3 separate regions of the Homo sapiens genome follow, and all the other regions are linked to region 3. Evidence: promoter capture Hi-C in 16 types of primary human blood cells and fetal thymus (Javierre and others, 2016). All regions are on one chromosome and are shown on one strand. Each heading gives the region's core, a stretch centred on a gene start or on the middle of the fragment in contact. The rest is flanking DNA. Distances are from core to core; before and after follow the strand shown.

Region 1 (2,700 bases), core at 77-2,576, 600 kb before region 3:
GGTGGATGTGTTCATATATCTGTCTGCTAGTTTTCTCATCTGTAATCTGAATGAGATTATGTGAAATTTCATAAACATCAATTATGAACATTTTTAAAAATTCCTAATAAATTCTTTTTTTTTTTTTTTTGAGACGAAGTCTCGCTCTTGTCCCCAAGTCTGGAGTGCAATGGCACAATCTCGGCTCACTGCAACCTCTGCCTCCCAGGTTCAAGCGATTCTCCTGCCTCAGCCCCCCGAGTAGCTGGGATTGCAGGTGCGTACCACCATGCCCGGCTAATTTTTTGTATTTTAAGTAGAGATGGGGTTCACCATGTTGGCCAGGCTGGTCTCGAACTCCTGACCTCAGGTGATCTGCCCGCCTCGGCCTCCCAAAGTGCTGGGATTACAGGAGTGAGCCACCGCACCCAGCCAAAATTGCTAATAACTTCTTAAGTTGCTTTCCCCATGTCATTGAGGAGTTGTTTTGAAAACTTCTTTCCACTGCAGTAGGTCCTTAAAGCCTTTCCAGGGAGTTGCCACCCAGGGTTTTACTACCAGAGAAAGGCTCTCTTGAACACATTCACCTTTGATTATGCTTAATGTGTTTATTAACAAGAAGTACATATGTCTTCTTATAAAATTTGTTATTTTGGTTGTATACCAATGCTTTGCTAATTCAGTAACCACATATCTAATAAATTAATTCTGTATCTTTATTGAATCTCAAAAAGCATACCATGTAAAGTGCTTGCTTAGTATCTGCAGGATAACTTTTTATATTATAAACTATCAATAATTATTGATTGGACTAGAGAAAGCTGTGAAATTCTAGAGGGGTAAATTTGTACTAAGTATAAATGAAACATCACATAACATCATAGAAGACTTTTTCAGCTCCAGAAGGGCTTTAAAAAAAAATCATCAGTGTATTTTGTAGTTTGGATGGCATACTAAATATGGATGAAAAAAATCGATATTAAATGCATTTATTTAAATTAAAAAATATACATCATATCCAAATGCAATAGCTCAATGGTTGCACTAGAACAATCTAAAAGTTGTTAATTCCATAGCATGAAGCCCTATATATGCAAAATGAGATGAAATCTACTATGTGCCAGTGCTCCAGATTGCTGGCTGCTTTTGCCTTCTGATATATGCGAAAGCTCAGTAAAATGTGCTATGTGAGAAAAGAAGTGAGTGAGTTTATATTATTATTTCTAGTAGAACAAACTGCATTACTTTGTTTATAAAAAGCTTTAGAGGTCCATTGTTTGCTTTTCTCCTATTTTTATTTTAGATTATAAATTCCTCCCAGAATTTAGTGCAGTTTTAAAAAAATCATTACCTTTAAGGAAGTAGTCATAAATCTACATATATTAGCCTTCTTAAAGCTGTATTTGCATAACTGATTTGAAAGTAACATTTGTTATAAGCTTAAGTCTCGATGCTATTATCCCATGGCAGTTAATTTCAACCACTGTGAAATGTCAAGGGTGACCTGTTTATAGTGACTCTCATTCTTTTCCCTTGCCAAAGCAGAAGGCACTAGATAAGCATCTAGATTCTAGGAAGTTGAGGAACAGGCACCTGACACCCCTGATGATTGATTAATCTCCTTCTCCCCCAAATTGAATCAAAGGCATCCACAGCTGTTGGGTGGTCCCACTCTTTATTCCCTTTGACACTTCCTATTGGCTGCTACTAGAGTTAAATCCTAAAATAGACATCTAATAATGGACTTCCACTGCCCTCAAACTTTTGAAGTGTCTTTCCTAGAAAGTACCTTGAAATCCTACCCATTCTTTAACATTCACCTCTAATCTCATTATCCAAGTTGGAATTAATTATTCTTTCCTTCATATTTTTATGACACTTGGCTTTTCTATGTTATAAGGACAACCTCACATTAGTTGCTATACATCTACTTTTTTTGAATTGATGCTCACTTGGGACACTAGAGTGTGAGGGATTAAATGAGCAGGGATTTTGTTTATTTTGTTCACTATATCCCTCAGTGTCTAGCACAGTGTTTCCACACCTAATAGGTGCTTAATAAATATTTCTGGAATGGTTGAATGATTCCAATGGGCTTTCAAAGTTTTTTTCTTGTGGTAAGCTTTAAAGAATATCATTGTCTTGTTCACCTCAATATTCCCAGTACAGAGGGCACTTAGCACCTTGCAGAAATAAGAGGCTTTATAACTATTTGTTCCATAATAGATGGTTGGCTGAATAAATGAATAGAGCTGTTTTCTCCAAAGCCCAAGATGCTCTAAAAGGCAATTGATCTTTGAAAGGTATAATCCTGAGTATTTAAAGAAATTTTGTCATAAATTGAGTAATTAAAGTAGTAATATACCCACAGCACTAAATAAATAGCTGAAAACAAGACAAAACAAAGTGTTCTATAACTTAAAGTGTTGCCACATGAACAGTCAGTTTTCAAAAGAAGACTACATGTAGCCAACAGTTATATGAAGAAAAGCTCAACATCACTGATCATTAGAGAAATGCAAATCAAAACCACAATGAGATACCATCTCCCATCAGTCAGAATGGTTATTATTAAAAAGTCAAAAAACAACAGATGCCGACAAGGTTGTGGAAGGAAAGAAATGCTTTTTACACTGTTGGTGGGAGGATAAATTACTTCAACCATTGTGAAAAACAGTGTGGCAATTCCTCAAAGACCTCAAGACAGAAATACCACTTGAC
Region 2 (2,700 bases), core at 133-2,632, 630 kb before region 3:
GAGTAATATATATGGAGTTTGAAATCTTATATATTTCCCTCCCAAGAAGACACCAGTTACTAATTCAGTTGACAAAGTAACAATGTTTCAGAATATTTAATGGAAACTGAACATCCTAGTCAATAGCCACTGTAAAATGTCCATTTTATGGCCTTATTTTTGCCTGAGCTTAATTTATGGTAATTTGGTGGTTGCATATAGCCTGAAAGTATGCTGTTGGCTTGAGAGTTAGTACTTGGATGTTGCATAAATCATAGCTGAATGTGTTGGCTTCATCTAATGCTCTTCTTTCTCCTACAGTTGGAGTCCTTTTCATCTTGTCATTTCCCCAGCTTCTTTCCTGTCTTCAATTCATGGGGCTCTGAGAGATCAGTATTTAGGAGATCTTCATAACATGGCATCTTCCCAATGCTAGGTAGAGTGTTCCTGGGTTTCATAGGGAGGGAATTCAGCAAATCTTTTTGTGGGATAGAGATGGTAACAGTATTTATGTTGCACTAGCCCACCGTTAAGCACTTTAAAAGAAAATATAATCCACTTTTCCTGTCTTCCTATCTGCCTCTAAATTCCATGTTAATATAAAATATGAAATTTAAAAGTATATAATCTGATCATTTCTTTTCAGAAGAGGTTTATAGTAGTTATGTTTTGATTAAATTTGAAATGTAGGCACATGTATACATATGTAACAAACCTGCACCTTGTGCACATGTACCCTAGAACTTAAAGTATAATAATAATAATAATAAAAAAGAAAGGTAGGACAAGTAAACCAGCATGTTCCAAGCCCACATGTAATCAATTTGGGGACCTAAATAATATGAATGAATTAACTGTACTATGGGATTCAGTTTAAGTGACTGGTCTTCTAAGAACTATACTGGATGCTTCAGAAATAATGAAATCATCGCCTACCTTCCACGATTCTTTGATTTTGAATGTTTATTAGTAATTAGTGATTTCCAGAACTGATTACAATTTCTAAATAAATAAAAGTCATATGTCTAATTGTGGGCAATCTTGCTCTAAATGTTGTCAGAAAACATGTTTTAAAATTTAGGTTCTTCTAAATTCCCCAAGTCACAATATAAATGTTGCCATTTATTTATTGCTAGAAAACTCTTATATTTTTCTATTTCAATTATACAACTGTCTTCCTTTGCTTATCTGTAATTATAATGCTAACATGTGTATAAATTACACAGTATTTTTATGTGCATTATCACTTTTAGTCCATATATCAGCCTCATGTTATAAAATTTATTATACATTTAAATTAATTTAAATGCAGAAACAAGCAAGTTTAAAATTAAAATGATATTTAAAATTTTATTATAACATTTTTCTAATTATGAAATAACAAATGTTTATTGTAGAAAACCTGAAAAATGCCAAAAGTACACAGATACTGCTTAATAAGAACTGACTAAAAATGGAAAAAAAGACACAGATTACCAATATCAGGAATAAATAAATGGATATCACTACAGACTTTGCAGACATTAAAAAGATAATAAAGAAATTCAACAAACCATTCTTGGTACATAAATCCAATAACAGATAAAATGTACTAATTCCTTGAAAAATACAAATTACTAAAACTCACTGAAGATGAAATAGGTAACTTAAATAGCCCTATTGTTATTAAAAAATAAATTTACAGTTAAAAACCTTATGTAAAAGAAATCTACAGGTCCAGGGGGTTTCACTGGAGAATTCTTGCAAGCATTTAAACAAGAATAAACACAAATTCTGCACAATTTCATCAAGAAAATAAATGAGGAAGGAATACTTCCCAATTCATCTTATGAAGCTAGAATTATTCTGATATTAAAAACCAGACAGGCCGGGAATGGTGGCTGACGCCTGTAATCCTAGCACTTTGAGAGGCTGAGGTGGGCAGATTGCTTGAGCTTAGGAGTTCGAGACCAGCCTGGGCAACATGGTGAAACCCTGTTTCTACAAAAAATATGAACATTAGCTGGGTGTGATGGCATATACCTGTAGTCCCAGCTACGTGGGGGGCTGAGGCGGAAGAATTGCTTGAGTCAAGGAGGTCGAGGCTGCAGTGAGCCATGATTGCACCACTGCCCTTCAGCCTGGGTGACAGAGTGACACCCTGTCTCAAACAAACGAAACACCAAAAACATTACAAGGAAAGAAAACTTCAAAACAATAGAACATCAATGCAAAAGACTTCATAAAATTTTATCAAATTGAATCTATAATGTATAGGAATAATACTGTAATATGACTACGAGAAATTTATCCTGGGGATAAGGCTGGTTTAATATTTAAAAACAAATTAAGATAATCCACTGAATCAATACTTTAAAGAAAACCCACATGGACATACAAATGATGCAACAAAAGTATTTGCTTTTCCTGAATTCAACATCCATTCATGATAATAACTCTCAAAAAACTAAGAATAGAAGAGAATTTCCTTAGGCTAATAAAAATTATCTATTTAAAAAATCCTATATCACAAATCATATTTATTATCACACAGCCTTGTTCCCCCTAAAAATCAGGAACAAGGAAAGGATGTCCTACCTCACCACTCCAGTTCAACGTTGTATTAGAAGGCCTAGCCAGTCTCAGAGTCAATAAAAAGAAATAAAAGACATGGATTAAAAAGAAGAAACCAAACTATCCCTATTTGCAGACAACATAATTATTTACATAGGAAATCCAAAT
Region 3 (2,700 bases), core at 89-2,588:
TCCCCCATATTCCCTTGTTTTCTTCTTTTTAAGTAAAAGGCTCTTCAGGTTTTTAGCCATATACATGGCCATTTCACATAGACACTCTATTTTCCAGTCTTCCAGTCTCATTTGCAGTAAGCTCTGGCCATATGGTTAATTTCTAGTCAAAAACATGTCATGTTCAACTTCCAAGGTATGTCCTTAAATAGGGAACATATTGTCCTCATTCTTCTCAGCTCCTGAAGTTTGAATACCAATTTAGTGGCTAAAGCTTGAGATACTATCTTGGAGTGTGTTGCTAATGGTGGAGCAACAAGGAGCCTAGTTCCTGATATCATGGAGCTCATATCTAGCCCTGGAACACTTAGCTGCAGACTTCATTTTCATCAGGGATAGAAATAAAGTTATATTTTAGTCTAGCAACTATTTACTTCAGGTGTTTTGGCATTCATGGAAAAGTCTCATCCTAACTTATACTTAATTATTTTACCAAATACTGTTGCCTACATTATATGATTGTGCTTTAAAAGTCTCATCGTTACAGTATACATTGATTAGGACCAGTATTTGAGAGTGTGCATCTCAAAGTTCTGTATCCATAGTTTAGTAACCACCTGTAGTTTTGTTAGCATGAAAACAACTTCTGACTCTCTTTATGCAAATACCTGTAGGCCATTATCTGCTAAATCTTTCTTAAATATGTGGTATATATTAGCCTACGTTTATTTGTCTATTAATACTTGCAAAAGCCACAGCAAAACATGATGTATATAAGTAGGATGATTTTTTGTTATCAAAACTGAATGATAGCTATAGGAAACCAGTGAGTACCATTAATTCACTCTGTTCAATTCTTTGCACTTACCTTCTTTCAGACTCGTTCATCAGTTTCACTTTAGTTTATCTCAGTTTCTATTTTTGGCACCTGTGAGATATGGATGCTTTTTGTTTGTTTGCTCACCTCTCCCCAACCCTCCCTACTCAGTCCCTCAGGAATACTGAGACTAGAGAAATTCATCTTCCCCTACCATGAAAACATTTTTCTGGGGCCTAACATACCTGATCTTTATCTTCCAAAGTTAGAAAATTCAGTTACTTTGGCGACAGCTTGGGAATGAGGTAGGTTCTCCAAGTTTAGCAGAGTAGAAAACTATCTAAAATAGTTTTGTTCAGGGTGTCCAGACATTTAATAAAACATTTTTTACCCACAGAAAATGTGGTCCCTTAGAGGAGAAGCAAGGTCCTGAGCCAAACTTTATAATGTACGTTCCTAGGAGGGAAAGCGAGGGAAATTCAGTCCACCGCTCTGCCTGCCTGCCTGCCTGCCTGCCTGCCTGAGGAGTTGCAGTGCAGAGTATCATTGCAGCGCTTTTCCAGGGAGTAACGTGCTGCACTGGTTCAGGGCTTTGTCTTTATTCACAACACATTCATGTGCCTCAGCATGGGGGCAGCTGCACTGTTGCCTGCCAGCCTGTCCTCTTTGACTGCCGAATGAACCAAAGGATAACTCTCCATTCGTGAGAGAGAGTGAGCTACAGAGGAAGAAAGACCACGCAAAAGGGAGGGGGAGAGAGGGGGGCGAAGAGGATGTTCTCCGGCTCACTCCTACATTAGGTCTCTGTGCAAAGGCAGAGGCTGTGGGAGCAGCATCAAGCAAGACTTCGGGCAGTGATTCTAACTATTGCCTATGAACACCGTGGCTGGGACGACTTTGACGAGGCAATTTATTACTTACGCATAGAACACTGGCTGTGCTGAAACTGGGAGCGCAAACAGCCCCTTGTTTTCTAATTTAGAGACTTGCATCTTTTCGACACTCAACAGTATCAAGACACTCTGCTACTACAGGTAAGACGCAGTTAAGATTTGTCTATTTGTGACATCATTACACTTTAACACACTTTAAACTATGAATACTTTTTTTATATTGTGCCTGGTCTATGTTGAACTGCCTTTTTCCCTTCATATTAGCCTCTCTTCAAGTAAATAATTTCACTAAGAAAAAACTGCTGTTAAATGAAGGAACCACTACTAAATCTTTGCTAAGAGGAATCTACATAATTGTATTTCCATGAGCTCTGAGTTCACAGTTGGGAACTTGAACTTAAACTGGGATCTGGGATGCATTTCATAATATATATATATATTTTTTTTTTCTAAATGTACTGAATTATTCACTATCATTTGGATAAGCCAAAATTATTCTCTTGCTACAGTGCTGTGCTGTGTATATGTTTAGTGGCTTTTTTTTTTTTTTTAAACCTCATAGTTTGGGGAAACTAATGATGAGGCACATAACTTGTGGAGTTTGATCACATCATTACCATGTGGTGTAATCTACTCAGTCAGAAAGATGTGCTGTTCTAGCCTTTACTGAGAAGGTGTTATCTTGTGTACATACATATATCATCAATAGGTAGCATGAACATGTGAAATATTTGTAAGACTAAGAGAAAATGCAAGGATGGTGATAATTCACATGCTGTATGATATCATTGAGTCTCGAGTTTGCTTTACATAAAAATTACAAAATTACCTTTGTTTTTATAACTGGTCTCCATCTTCACTTGTCAGTTTTTACAAAATAAAATTAGCTTTCAGGTGAGGTCACTCGGAGTTGTTGATATAGCTGGGAAAACTGTAATCACAGAAACATATTAATAATGTGTTGAATGTCTATAGAGATATAGGAGTAATATTATCAAGAGGCTTGTACAA

What was found. Contacts are between HindIII fragments. The CHiCAGO score rates a contact against its expected background, and 5 or more counts as called.
Region 1: a contact is called between a fragment that was not itself captured here and the fragment with the promoter of LINC03000 in region 3, in 2 of 17 cell types (naive B cells and total B cells). The highest score is 5.9, in naive B cells.
Region 2: a fragment that was not itself captured here is called in contact with the fragment with the promoter of LINC03000 in region 3 in 1 of 17 cell types (naive B cells); the score reaches 5.7 in naive B cells.

What each region holds. Positions count from the first base shown.
Region 1 is chr5:163,691,176-163,693,875 of GRCh38, forward strand. No RefSeq gene overlaps it. Among named protein-coding and RNA genes, the nearest start is that of MAT2B, 190 kb to the left of the region's middle. The HindIII fragment of the contact is 179 bases long and covers 1,238-1,416 here.
Region 2 is chr5:163,669,996-163,672,695 of GRCh38, forward strand. No RefSeq gene overlaps it. Among named protein-coding and RNA genes, the nearest start is that of MAT2B, 170 kb to the left of the region's middle. The HindIII fragment of the contact is 5,335 bases long and covers 1-2,700 here.
Region 3 is chr5:164,295,367-164,298,066 of GRCh38, forward strand. LINC03000 (long intergenic non-protein coding RNA 3000) reads left to right here and starts at 1,339. Exons shown (of 5, transcript XR_001742489.2): 1 at 1,339-1,830. The HindIII fragment of the contact is 4,689 bases long and covers 252-2,700 here.